Linked DNA regions of Homo sapiens: all the other regions are linked to region 3. The links are contacts of gene promoters, found by promoter capture Hi-C in blood cells and fetal thymus (Javierre and others, 2016). All regions are on one chromosome and are shown on one strand. Each heading gives the region's core, a stretch centred on a gene start or on the middle of the fragment in contact. The rest is flanking DNA. Distances are from core to core; before and after follow the strand shown. Region 1 overlaps ZDHHC9 (zDHHC palmitoyltransferase 9). Region 2 has its middle 16 kb from the start of ELF4. Region 3 holds the start of BCORL1 (BCL6 corepressor like 1).

Evidence for each region. Contacts are between HindIII fragments. The CHiCAGO score rates a contact against its expected background, and 5 or more counts as called.
Region 1: a fragment that was not itself captured here is called in contact with the fragment with the promoter of BCORL1 in region 3 in 9 of 17 cell types (activated CD4 T cells, total B cells, naive B cells and 6 more); the score reaches 8.5 in activated CD4 T cells.
Region 2: a contact is called between a fragment that was not itself captured here and the fragment with the promoter of BCORL1 in region 3, in 2 of 17 cell types (non-activated CD4 T cells and activated CD4 T cells). The highest score is 10.2, in non-activated CD4 T cells.

What each region holds. Positions count from the first base shown.
Region 1 is chrX:129,835,931-129,840,102 of GRCh38, forward strand. The region is part of intron 3 of ZDHHC9 (zDHHC palmitoyltransferase 9); the gene reads right to left. Among named protein-coding and RNA genes, the nearest start is that of ZDHHC9, 5.9 kb to the right of the region's middle. The HindIII fragment of the contact is 3,218 bases long and covers 897-4,114 here.
Region 2 is chrX:130,124,573-130,129,063 of GRCh38, forward strand. It overlaps a transcript of RAB33A not described here. Among named protein-coding and RNA genes, the nearest start is that of ELF4, 16 kb to the left of the region's middle. The HindIII fragment of the contact is 9,973 bases long and covers 1-4,491 here.
Region 3 is chrX:129,981,378-129,985,584 of GRCh38, forward strand. BCORL1 (BCL6 corepressor like 1) reads left to right here and starts at 1,258. Exons shown (of 14, transcript NM_001379451.1): 1 at 1,258-1,385. RefSeq lists a silencer at 2,087-2,323. The HindIII fragment of the contact is 8,398 bases long and covers 1-4,207 here.

The DNA.
Region 1 (4,172 bases), core at 1,256-3,755, 140 kb before region 3:
AGAGGCAACTATGCCTTTCTAAAACTCATTTGGTTAGTCAAGTCACAGACAGAATCCGAAGCTAGATAAAGCCAAGACTGACCTCCATAGAGTCATTCCCCAGAGAATGCACTCTTGGTTACAGAGCACAATATAGTCACTTTTTCCTCTTCCCAATCTCACATAAGGATGCTCTTCAGGAACCTGGACCTTGTCACTGTGGGCACTAACATTCTGGTATGTCAAAGTTTGGCTTTGGTCTACATAGTCTTGTGTCTCCTCAAACCTAGTAAGTTCATATTATCAGGTCTGCTTTTTCTATTTCACCTGTCTGCCAGACACACCTCCTCTTTCTTTTTTCTATTTTATTTATTTATTTATTTATTTAGATGGAGTTTTGTTCTTGTTTTGTTGCCCAGGCTGGAGTGCAATGGCACAATCTCGGCTCACTGCAACCTCCGCCTCCCAAGTTCAAGTGATTCTCCTGCCTCAGCCTCCCAAGTAGCTGGGAATACAGGTGTGCACCACCAAGCCCAGCTGACTTTTTGTACTTTTAGTAGAGACAGGGTTTCACCATGTTGGCCCGGCTGGTCTCGAACTCCTGACCTCAAGTGATCCACCTGCCTCAGCATCCCAAAGTGCTGGGATTACAGGCATGAGCCACTGCGCCCAGCCCACACTGCCCCTTTCATCAGGATAAGTCACTAAGTAACAATGTACAGAGCACACATTGCTTGATTTTTCTCCAAGCCATCCTCATCTTGGCAGCAGGGACCAGGAGTGGCCACAGCAGTGATGATCCCTTGTTAACTCACAAAGCTCCTGATAGGCTTCCCTGTTCCTGCAAGGCTACCAGAAATGCCATGCTGCAATACCATCAGTTCTCTGCAAAGATGCCTTCATTTTCTAGGAGCATAAGCTTGGGAGACCCAAAGAGCCTAGATGCCACTGGGTAACACACACACTAGCTCGCAAGAATCTGGAATATGCTGGCCTAGTATTTGGTACTATGTACACTTTACTAAAGCATGTGTGTTTGAATATCTTCAGGATTCCATAGCCAAAGGGTAACAATGAACAATGAGATAAAATGTCGAAATTAGAAGAAAAAGCCCTGAGTCAGTATAGAGACGTTGGCTGGTCAACTCATCTTGATAAAGGAAACTCACTTCTGTGGGCCTGGTTTCCTCACCCCACACAAGGAGGGAGATAGTCTCCAAAGCCCTTTCCAGATCTACCATCCTATGATTCTGTGGGTCAAGATTGTTAAATTTTAAGTACATCTAGAATGTTTTAATTCAGCAACACTTATTGGCCATCTACTCTATGTAAGGCATGGTAGAGAGCACTGTGGGGGCTACACAGCCATTGAACATAGTCTCTGACCTTGAAAGAGACTAGCTGCGGGGGACAACAACAGTGAGAAGTGTAATCACCATATAGCTCCAAACTATAAGAAATGTCATGTGATTATCTGTTGAATGAGCGGTGTGTACAATTAGCCCAATGAATGCAGAAATTACTGGAAAGTTTTCATGAAGAAAGACTCAAGAAAGAATTTGAAAGAGGGGTAGAATTTGGATAGGCTAGAAAAGTATTGTTTGTATTGATTACTATTGATTACTAAGCAGTGTTACAAAGCTGTTTTCAGTTCATCCAATTCAATGACTCTTCTGCCAATATATACATCAAAAGCTCTAATGGGGACCAACCTGACAGAACCTGGTCTGACAGTGCCTTGATAAGATTTCCTTCATATACAGAGGACACAGTGAGACCATAAGCACTGATTATAGCAGCAAACTGCTTCTGCTTCAGGGGTCAAGAGTCTCATAGTCATTCTTGCCACAAGAGAAGTCTGAGGACCTTGATCCCACTAGTGGCCAGGTCAGAAAGCTAAAAGAGAAAGCTGGAAGCCAATTCCAGGAGACAGTGCACTTGTTCCTTTCTCCAGGATCACACTTTATCAGGAAGTTGAATTTGACTGAATACCACGATAGCCTTTCAGTAGCTGGATGTCTCCTAGGTTGTCAGTGGCATTCTGCTACAGTGTCCTAACACTTCAGGCCAAGCTGGTAGCTATGTGTTCATCGCACAAGCTGGATAGAGCTTAAGCAGAAAGAACTGAAAATTGTTCATGTGCTCAAAGCTGAAACTAGCAATACACACTCACATTTCTTAAATACCTCACCCTAAGAATTAATTAGAAAATCCTTTTTCTTTAAGCATTATACCATTTTTCACTCTGCTTTTAAACTTAAATACGTTTACCATGAATACAATTATATTTAAATATAGCAACCTACTGGTAATCTATAATCTCCTTTTGTGTGTATTTGAGTCTTCCAGACAGACACAGAGTTATACAGAATTTCAGGTTCTTGGAGTTGCAAGAGGCTTAGTGAATATTTGGCCAAATTTCTACTCGGTGACAGCGGCCCGAGAGAGACCCCCCGGCTTCTTCAGAAACACCTCTAACAGGCCGGGCGCAGTGGCTCATGCCTGTAATCCCAGCACTTGGGGAGGCTGAGGCAGGTGGATAACTTGAGGTCAGGAGTTCGAGACAAGCCTGGCCAACATGGTGAAACCCTGTCTCTACTGAAAATACAAAAATTATTTGTATTTGGCAGGTGTCTGTAATCCCAGCTACTCGGGAGGCTGAGGCAGGAGAAGTGCTTGAACCCGGGAGGCAGAGGTTGCAAAAGCAGAGATCATGCCACTGCACTCCAGCCTGGGTGATGGGGCAAGGCCCTGTCTCAAAAAATAAATAAAAAATAAAAAATAATTAAAAAAAAAAAGAAACACTCTAACAATACAGAGCTAACTGGCCCCAGGATGGACAACTTTTTTTGTTTTATGTATTCAATCTACTATGTGTCCACTGAAAATTACAGGTCACTCATTTGAAAAGTCTTCTAGAAGATATGTAAAGGCATAATCCAAAAATAAAAGGACATCTGCCAGCACTGCTAACATTATGCGTTTTTCATTAAGGGGCACCCACATGCCTGACCAGACTTCTCAAGCCATCTGGCTGGCCCAGAGCTGTGCTGCAGGCAGCTATAAATCAACTCACACTTGTTCCTAAGCACCTGCTGCAAGCAGGACCCTGCTACTAAAATGCAGCTCCAGATGTGCCTCAAGATTTGGACTATCTTCCCACAAGGTAAAAATACAGCAGCCAGAGGATGTGGAGTCTCTACTCCTAGACAATGTAAGAATGAAAATAGATCACCATTTGTCTATTCAGACACCCTCACCTGCCTGAAGGCAGGGGGCTAGATCAACTGATTTCCTGAGGCCTCACTAAGTTCTTTTTTTTTTTTTTTTTTAAGACAGAGTCTCACTCTGTCATCCAGGCTAAGATCTCAGCTCACTGCAACCTCCGCCTCCCAGGTGCAAGGGATTCTCCTGCCTCAGCCTTCCGAGTAGCTGGGACTACAGGCGCACAACAGCCACACGGGGCTAATTTTTGTATTTTTAGTAGAGACGGGGGTTTTACCATGTTGGCCAGGCTGGTCTCGAACTCCTGACCTCAAGTGATCTGCCTGCCTCGGCCTCCCCAAGTGCTGGGATTACAGGCATGAGCCACTGCGCTAAGTCCTAATACTAACAAAGCAGCCCACATTCTGCTCCCCAAACCCTGCCCCCACTATGTGGTGGACAGGAAATTATAGATGCCAAAGAAAAAGGCCGACCAGAAGGAGATTTCATTCCTCAGAGGCATGCTGGTGTACCTTGTACAACCTGTCACTGGCTAGGCACAAGGCAGCCACCACCTAAAGTGTCTATGTGTCTGTATATGACAGACACACACACACATACACAAGCACGCACATCCACACATGTACAAAGTATTCATCACCAGGGTCCTCTCCTCTGTGGTCACATTTCCACCTCCCCCCTCCACTCCTCTGCTAACACATTTACTTCCTTCTCCCCTCTTCTTCCCACTACTCCCTCCTCCAGCCCTATCTTCAAAAATATTTAGTCTTTCACACAGACAGCTGGTACTCAAGTAAGTTTTACAAATAACCTCACCCTTCAAAATGCAAGAAATAACCTGGGGCGGGGGGAAGTCATCATGGTAGAAAACTCAACCTGCCTCTGTCAAATGGTAACTTGGCTAATTAGAAGCTTCATCCCACCAGCGGTTTTCTTCAGAGGCCTGCAGGGGCCTCAGTGGAACAGAT
Region 2 (4,491 bases), core at 1,645-4,144, 140 kb after region 3:
ACTGGGGTCTCTGCCTGATAGTGGTCCTCCAGAGGATATTTTGGCTATTTGTGTCCAAATTGTCAACCCCTTCTGGTCAAAGACCACCAGGAACACGGTCAAACAAGTTAGGTTTATTGCTCACTGCAGCAAGAAAGAAGGCGCCCCATGGGGGAACTATGCCATGCTTCAGGAAGAGGGCGCTAGAAAAGACTTAGAGGATTCAGGTTGGGTCAGGGGATTTGGAGGAAGGTTTAAGGAAGTCAGGCTTTGTTCTGGACTGGATGCTGGTGATTCTGTGATTGGATTGGGTATCTTATCAACTCAATCTTATCCAAGAGGAAGGCAGACAAGAGCGAGGCTGAAGCCACAATTGGTAAGGAAGCAGCAGCTACTCAGAAAAACCAGGATGGGGGTGGGGGTTGTTCGGTCATTTTCAAGGTTCAGGCAATCTTCATGTTTTTGTCTGTGTTCACATGATTATGGAGCGGTCTTGTTTTTGTCTCAATCCACCATGGTCACAGAGTAGCCTTGTATAATGCTGATGCCCTATGAATGTATGTTCAGCAGAACACCCAGATCTAGCTGTGAGTGCCAGGCCAGTTGGTAGCAACACCAAGTCCTGGCCGACAGTACCGGGCGAGCTTCCAGAGACGCCAGAGGCTGCTTTTCTTTCAGCAAATGTTCATTTTGAGAGGATCTCTGGTTTCCATCGAGGGCTTGGCAGTCCAGTATCTAAATATTTAGACCCTCCCTGTCCTCTTTGACCTAGTCACACCCATACGTAGAACCAGCCAGGCAGGGGAACGTCATCACTGGCTTGGGCTGAGTGTATCTGTGTGTGGTTTTGTGTACGCGTGTCTGTGCCCGCCAGGAATTCCCTGATAAGATGGGAAAGAGACCAGAGGCAGTCTTACTTCACCTCTGGGCCCAGCAGAACTTCCCCTCTGCCCAGAAAGCAAGGCACTGGGAGCGAGTCCCAACAATCTCTAGGGCAGCAAGGGTGCCTGGCTTTAGGTGGAGTCAGGGAAGGACGTACAGAAGGGATATGGCAGCAGCCAAACTGGAGAGGAGCGGGAAAGGGAAGGGGCAGTGGGGGAAGGGAGGGGAGAGTTCCTTTGTATAAATGGGTCTCTTGAGAAGCTGCTGATTTTCCTTCAAGGAAGCAGCCTGCAGTAGGTCACTGTGGAGTCCCACCCCCAGCCCTTTCTGTTTAAAGCCTCTTGTCTCCAAAACAGGCCCTGTTGATTAGAACAACAACAAAAAAAATCACAAATGTTGACCTCATCCTTCACTAAGAGGCTTAATCTAACCCCTTTCCAATCAAACTTCCTTCCTTCCCTCAGTTCCACCTCTCCACCTTTAAAAACATTAGGACACCCCCTGCTGTGGTTTACAGGTAGCCAGGCAGAGGTTAGGACCATCACTAAGTGGTGCCAAGGACCATCTGATACCGTTTATGAAATGGCCAAGGAAAGCGAGGTTGAAGTCAAATGGGTGGGCTCTAGATGACTGCTCTTTGGGCAAAGCCTGCCTCTTCTTCCCAGGGTGGGACTAGCCTTGCACCACACTGTGGTGTGGCCCAGCTTATCACAGACCAGCTATTGAGGGCCAAACCTCGACTGGCACTGCTTGTCTGTGGAGTCAGAAATCAGACCCTAGAGGCCAGTGGCTCATGCCTGTAATCTCAGCACTTTGGGAGGCCGAGGCAAGACAGATCACCTGAGGTCAGGAGTTCGAGACCAGCCTGGCCAACGTGGCGAAACCCCATCTCTACTAAAAATACAAAAATTAGCCGGGTGTGGTGGCGTGTGCTTGTAATCCCAGCTACCCGGGAGGCTGAGGCAGGAGAATCGCTTGAACCCAGGAGGTGGAGGTTGCAGTGAGCTGAGATCACCCACTGCACTCCAGCCTGGGCAACAGAGCGAGACTCCATCTCAAAAAGAAAAAAAAAAAGAAAAGAAAGAAAGAATTTGGACCCCAGGATCCTCAGGGGCTTGGGCAGATTAAATGCATCCTGGGTAAGTGGCAAGTTGTGACAGCTGAGTGAAGTGGTGATGATCTGAACATCCTCCCATAAACAACCTGAATTACAGAGATCAGAGGTTACAAGACAGAGGTGCATTTTTACAGTCAGCCCTGTTATCTAGCATCATCCAGCCAATCAACCAAGGACTTGCTCAGCACTTCACCAGGGTGCAGCAATATGGTCCCCATCCTGAAAAGAAAACATGGGCTCTGCTCTGGGACAGGTGACAATTCCTTTAGAATGACTTAAAGAACAATTACACTCAAAGGTGCTAAGTGCAACTGGAGTTCAGAGAGAAATCATGCATGGGCACTAGTCCAACTGGTACCATGCCACCAAGGCAGGACTTGATGTAGGCCTTGAAAGATGAGTAGGATTTGGATAGATAAAGGGAGGAGGGATGGCGTTCCGGATGTGAAGAGCATGAACACAAGTTTAAAGGTGGCAATAAACCAGGTGTGTGTGTGTGTGTGTGTGTGTGTGTATGTCCATATTAAAAGTCAGGCGGAAAGTCAGCCAAACAGAGTGGGCTTAGTACTACAGGAGACTTTGAACTTGATGTGGTTGGTGACAGGGAATCACTGTACATTTTTAAACAGGGAGGGGACATGGACCAAGTGGTGGCTTTAGGAAGTGGTCTAATAGCAGTGGTTGACTCAGGATGGCTGCTGTGGCTGATCTCTCCATTCTTGGCATGGCCACAGTACTTTTTGTGTCCTTCTGTGGACGTAGCTCATTGTATTGGAGTTCTGCATCCACATGTCTGCATTCCTCACGGACACCAGGAGGTCCTTAAAAGCAGTGGCTATGTTTTATCTATGTTTCTATTCTGACATCTACCTGGCTCACAGGAGGCACCCAATGAACACTGATTAGATGAATAGATCATTTAATTTCAATCCACTGAACTACAATGACATACTATACAAGGATAACTACTGTCAAAGAATTTGACAAAACTGTATACAACACTAAAGCAAGACAAATCACAATTTGATCTTTTCTTAATGATTTGTGGAACACTAGGATCTTAGTCTTACCCCCATCTCTGTAAGCAGCAATTACTGCTGTATAATAATTTCGATGTCACAGGATACTAGATGAGTTTTCCTTTTTTTTTTTTTTTTGAGATGGAATATTGCTGTGTTGCCCAGGCTGGAGTGCAGTGGTGTGATCTTGGCTCACTGTAACCTCCGCCTCCCAGGTTCAAGCAATTCTCCTGTCTCAGCCTCCTGAGTAGCTGGGACTACAGGTGCATGCCACCATGCCTGGCGAATTTTTGTATTTTTAGTAGAGATGGGGTTTTACCATGTTGGCCAGGATGGTCTCGAACTCCTGACCTCAGGTGATCTACCTGCCTTGGCCTCCCCAAGTGCTGGGATTACAGGCGTGAGCCACTGTGCGCAACCCTAGATGAGTTTTCTACATATAGATTTGGATATATCATTTGGATATGATCACATTTGAGTAAACCTGTATCTATATAGTATTGTTCGGTATACCTGTACTGCAAATTCTTACGGTGGAGATTTGGCCTGTTCTCCCAGTGTTCAGAAGGGATTTGGTTGAAGCTGAAACTGCCCTTAATCAAACCCAATATTTAAAAAAAATCCAGACTGGTAATAATTTTCTCTTTATATACATGGAGTTTAACAACAGGACTCTTGAAAGTAGTAACAAATTCCTCTTAAATAAGATTTGATGTTTTTAGGCCGGGCGCGGTGACTCACACCTGTAACCCCAGCACTTTGGGAGGCCGAGGCGGGCAGATAACCTGAGATAGGGAGTTTGAGACCAGCCTGACCATCATGGAGAAACCCCATCTCTACTAAAAATACAAAATTAGCCAGGCGTGGTGGCGCATGCCTGTAATCCCAGCTATTTGGGAGGCTGAGGCAGCAGAATCACTTGAATCCGGGAGGTAGAGGTTGTGATGAGCCTAGGTCGCACCATTGCACTCCAGCCTGGGCAACAAGAGCAAAACTCCATCTCAAAATAATAATAATAAGATTTGATTTTTAAAAGTTAAGCAATCTAAAATGCCAAACAATGAGTTGACTTGTGAAACTTTGAATCGTATTCCCAGGAAATAATCTGTAAAGTGAGGTATGCCCATAAGCGTATTTCAGAGAAAAGGAGCTTAAGAGAGGACAGATGTCTGGCATGAGGACAGCAGGCAGAAGAGTCAAGAGATGATGGTCCTTCCATGAGTCCGTCTCCAGGTTTAACTGTGAAGCACCAGGTCTCTGAACTCAGATTTGTAGTAAGTGCCCTTTCTGTCCCCTGCAGGACCCAATCCAGTTCTGGGACAGGAGTTGTTCCAGGTAAACAAAGTCTATTCCATACATTTATTTGTTCACTCATTCGACAATGATCTATGAAGCACTTACTATGAAGCAGACCCTGTGCTAAGCTCTGGAGATAAAACCATGAGCAAGGCCTTAACATCAGGGCTTCTGCTTCCAGGAAGTCATGGGCTAGCA
Region 3 (4,207 bases), core at 8-2,507:
TTCCTTCCCGTGGCGGCAACCTAGTTCGTATCTTATTCCTACAAGGTAGCGTCGCTTCGAGTCGCATGGACATTGGGGTTTAGATAATTTACCCCCCACCCAAGCGATTTAATGGCTTTTAAGCAAAAGGCGAATACCTGGATTTCCATGGGAGGGATGAGGTTTGAAGATTGGGATTCACCCCTAGCTCACTTCCACTACCAACCCCTCTTTCTTGTGAGCCACTTCCACGGGTATTCAAATCTGGGGGGGAGGGGGGACGGGAGTATTAATATGCTTCTCTATTTCTACACAGGGTCGGCGTGGCGAAGGACGGCTAGCCTTGGAGGGAAAGTAGCCACCAGTCCAACTCGGGTCGCCCCCACCATTATTTCGGTGAGGGGGCAACGCTAAGAAGGGGATACTGGTGGGTAGGGGCCCAGTATAAGGGAGGGGGCTGGGTAGTCGTCCCCAGAAGGACTCCGTGTCTTGGCGGGGAGAGAGAGAGGCGAGCCCCGGCTTCAGGGGAGGGGTTCCGGGGAGGGAGATGGGGGGGTGGCGACGACGGTGGGGGGGGGAGCGGGAAGAAGGGGGAGTCACGCCCTGCCTGCAAGGGGAGCCTCCCTCAGGCCCCTGGGAGAAGGGGACTGAATGCGTCTGTTCTCCGCTGCCCGGCAGAGGAGATCTGGGGTCTCGAGATTTGCACACTGGATCGGCACCAGTGGCCTGAGAAAGTCAGGTCGGGGCATAAGGTGGAGAACGTTGGAAGAAAGAGAGAGAACCCTTTGGCCGCGGCTCACTGACCCTCTCCCTTCCTCAACCTCCCCCTTCGAGGGGCGTCGAGGTGGGGGGGGACGTGGGGCTCCTGCAGCCCCGCAGATTGAGCGCCTCCGCCTCTCCCAGGAGTCTAGCTTTTTGCCCGGCTTGCTGCAGCCACTGCTGCCTCCCTCTCCGGAATCCGCTCGGTCCTCTCAGCGATCCCCTCCTCCTCTCCTCCCCTCCCAGTGTCACCGGGGCTGCTTGGCTCTGCCCCCTTCGCCGCCGCTTGCTCCCTGCTTTCGTCCCTCCCTCTCTTGCTCGCTCCCTCCCTTCGCCTCCTCCTCCCCATTCCCCCCCACCCGCGTAGGCCGCATTCTGGGAGTTGTAGTCCGGTGGAGCGGGGGTTGGCGCCGCCCGCGGACCCAGCCGGACTCCACTTCCCGTCGAGCCCTGCGACCGGCACCCACTCCACCAGGCTTCGCTCGCACACAGACACACACACACACCGCTCTCCCCCTCACTCTTTCGCTCGCCGCGGCTGCTGCCAGTGTGTGGCTCTGTCTCTCCTCCGCTTTGCTGAGCCCTCCCTTCTTCCTCTCAGTTCCTAGAGTCCGACCGCCGCCGCCGCCGAGAGAGAGGAGAAGGAGGTCGGTGGCGATAAGGGGCGGAGGGGGGCATCAGATCGGGGCAGTATTAGGCGGGTGGCGGTTAAGAGGGAGTAAGAGGGAGCCCGGGTGGCGGCCTGAGCCTCCCCGCGGAGCCGACCCGGGAACAGGTGCGTCTTTTTTCTCTCTCCCCCAATCCCTCCACCCCTTTTGACTCCCCGGCTTTTTCGTATCCCCCCACCCGCTTCTTTCTATCTTAAGCCTTTCTCCAACCCTGTTCCTTCTTTTCCCTGCGGCCGCTCGGCTTGCCCCCCGGGGGCGCCGTCCTCTTCGTGTCCCCGGACGTAGCGCTCCCTGGAGCTGGGTATGTCTTCGCCCCTCCCTTCGGGACAGCTCCCTTCCACTTCCCACCTTCGTACCCCATCCCCTGACTTGCCCTACCCCCTTCTCGACCCCCTTCTCTCTTAGCCAGGTGAGACTCGTTCGCCACGATCCAAGAGAGTCTTCTTCCCGGCTGGGCGGGGGTCTCCATGGAAACGGGGGTCGGTTGATCCTGGGGGGGAAACCATAGGAATTACCCCACTCCTCGGAAAGGGAGGTGGAGGCTATGGTCTTGTTAACTACCTGACTCCAACCCCCGATCCAAGGATCCGACGATCCGAAGGGAGGCTGGCTAGCAGGGCAGGGCGAGAAAAGGCTTTTTTTTGGGGGGGGGGGGTGTCCGTGATGAAGTGTTGAAGAGACCGGGAGAAAATGCCCTCCAACCTCAGAGGGGAGGTGCGACGGGTGCTCTTCAGGGCTGCTTTCTTCCCGGCGCTGGGGTGCGGGAATCGTAGGGTAAGGGGTACCCCTAGGTGGCGGCGGGGCCTGGGTTCGGGAGTGGGAGTGCTGTGATGGGGGCAGGGGCAATTATCCGAGTCCCTGGAAAAAAGGCGGGGGATGACTTCGGAGCGCCCTGGCTCCGCTGCCCTCGCTCTAGGGGCGGGGGCCGCCGGGCCGGGCGCGGCGGGGAGGGGGCTTAAATTGAAGGAAGATGAGATCGGGGGCAATTCATACTAGCACCGGCAAGCCAGAGGGGAGATCCGGCGTGCAAGCCCTCCACCCGCTTCGCGCCAGGCCTGGAGGCAAGGGGTCGGCGAGCGAAGCCGAGGGCTGGAAGGAGGGAGGCTCCGGTTACGGGGCCGGGTTTCGGGATCAGGGGCAATCCCCCGGCCCTTGGAGAAGGAGGGAGAGGGATGGCCGCGAACCCCAGGGCTCCCCCACCCCGGGTCCTAAGGGGCGTGAGGGACGGACAGCAGGCCCAGCGGAGCTGGATTCGAGCGGATCGCGGCCGGGGAGTGGGAGGGCTTAGTGGTGGGCTTCGGGGGGAGCAGTCCGGCGGCGGGGCGGGCGGGCGGGGCGTGGGGCTCCGGCGGGCGGCGGGGCGGGGCCGGGGGCGGCGCTGCTGCCGCCGCCGCTGCCGCCGCCGCCGCTGCTGCTCCTGCTGGGGCCGCCGCAGCCGTTGCCGCCGCCGCCGCCGCCGCTTCTGGGCGGGGAACGGAGGCCAAAGAGAGTCCCGTGCCGGGGCAGAGGGCGCAGGCGGCGCGCGGTGGGGAGGGGGCCGTCCTGGGGGCGGGGGCAGGCGGGGGGGTGGAGCCCCCGACGGGGGGCGGTACGAGCCGGGACGACGACGACGAGGAGCCCCGGGGGCCGGGTGCATGGAGGACGAGGTGCTGGGAGAAGGAAGGGGGGTGTGGGTCCCGCGACTGGCCTCGTGGGCTTGGCTCCTCGAGGTTCGGTTTCGGGACAGAGCCCTGCAGGGGCGCCAAGAGGCCGGGGAAGGGATAGGGAGGTGAACTGGTCGGTGGAGGGGGCCCTCCTCGCCGGGGTCCCGCCGAGAGGAAGGCTGGGCCAGAGGGACGTCCGGGGCAAGGCTGGGAGGAGCCGGCCGCACCTCGGCTGGGGATTTCGCGTTATGGAGGTGCGGGAGATTGTTGTAGGGAAAGACGTGGTCGAGGGGAAAGGTGGGAGGGAAACACTGCAAACCCGGGAGGCCAACAGCACAGGCCCGTGGGGGTGCCCTTCTATTCCGCTCGCACCTCCTCCCTCCCTGAGTGGAAGCACTATGTTTTTGTTTTATTGTTTTGAAATTTTCAATGTTGGCTGATCGAAACTGTCGATGGGGTGATATTCATTCTTGGTGTCTCCTGGAGTAGACAGTAAAGACAGGCATCCTTTGGCGAGCAAGCATCTAGCCCAGGGTTTAGAGGCTCTTTACGTTAGTGTGGGAAGGGGGCCCGGTAACTTTGTGCCACAGCTTGACTACTGTTAAGGCAGTTTGGAGGTCGTCCCTGTGGTACAGAGGTGGAGTACAATTGCAAAAATCTTCAGTAAGACTTCTGGAGATGAGTTGTAGGTTAGCGTTACAGTGGTTAGCCCTGTGGTTCTTTCAACTTAGAAGGCTCTTTCTCAAAAGCACGCCGTTGAGTTACATGGGAAAATAAATGTGGATTGCATTTGGGGTTGGGAGTGGATTAGGTTGATTATAAAATTTCAAGGTTGGAAGGGAGTTTTAAGGTTATTTACTTTTCTGTTGATATGTCCTGTCCTTGAATGTTGGAATTGAGGGAGCTTTATTTTGGGGAAGATGGTAGATGGCACAGTGGAGGATGTCTGGTGCACAGTTTAGGGTACTTTAATTGAATGGTGATGTCACCATGTGGTACTAAAGATGACAGTATGTAGGAGAGAAATTTGGGGGATTCCACTGGGGATTAAATGGGATAACCTAATTTTAAGAATCATCCCGGGGCTCCAAATAGAAGCAAAAGGCTGGGGAGGAGCCTGTAAAATTTCGATGGAGGCGAAAAGTTAGTAGCAAAGAT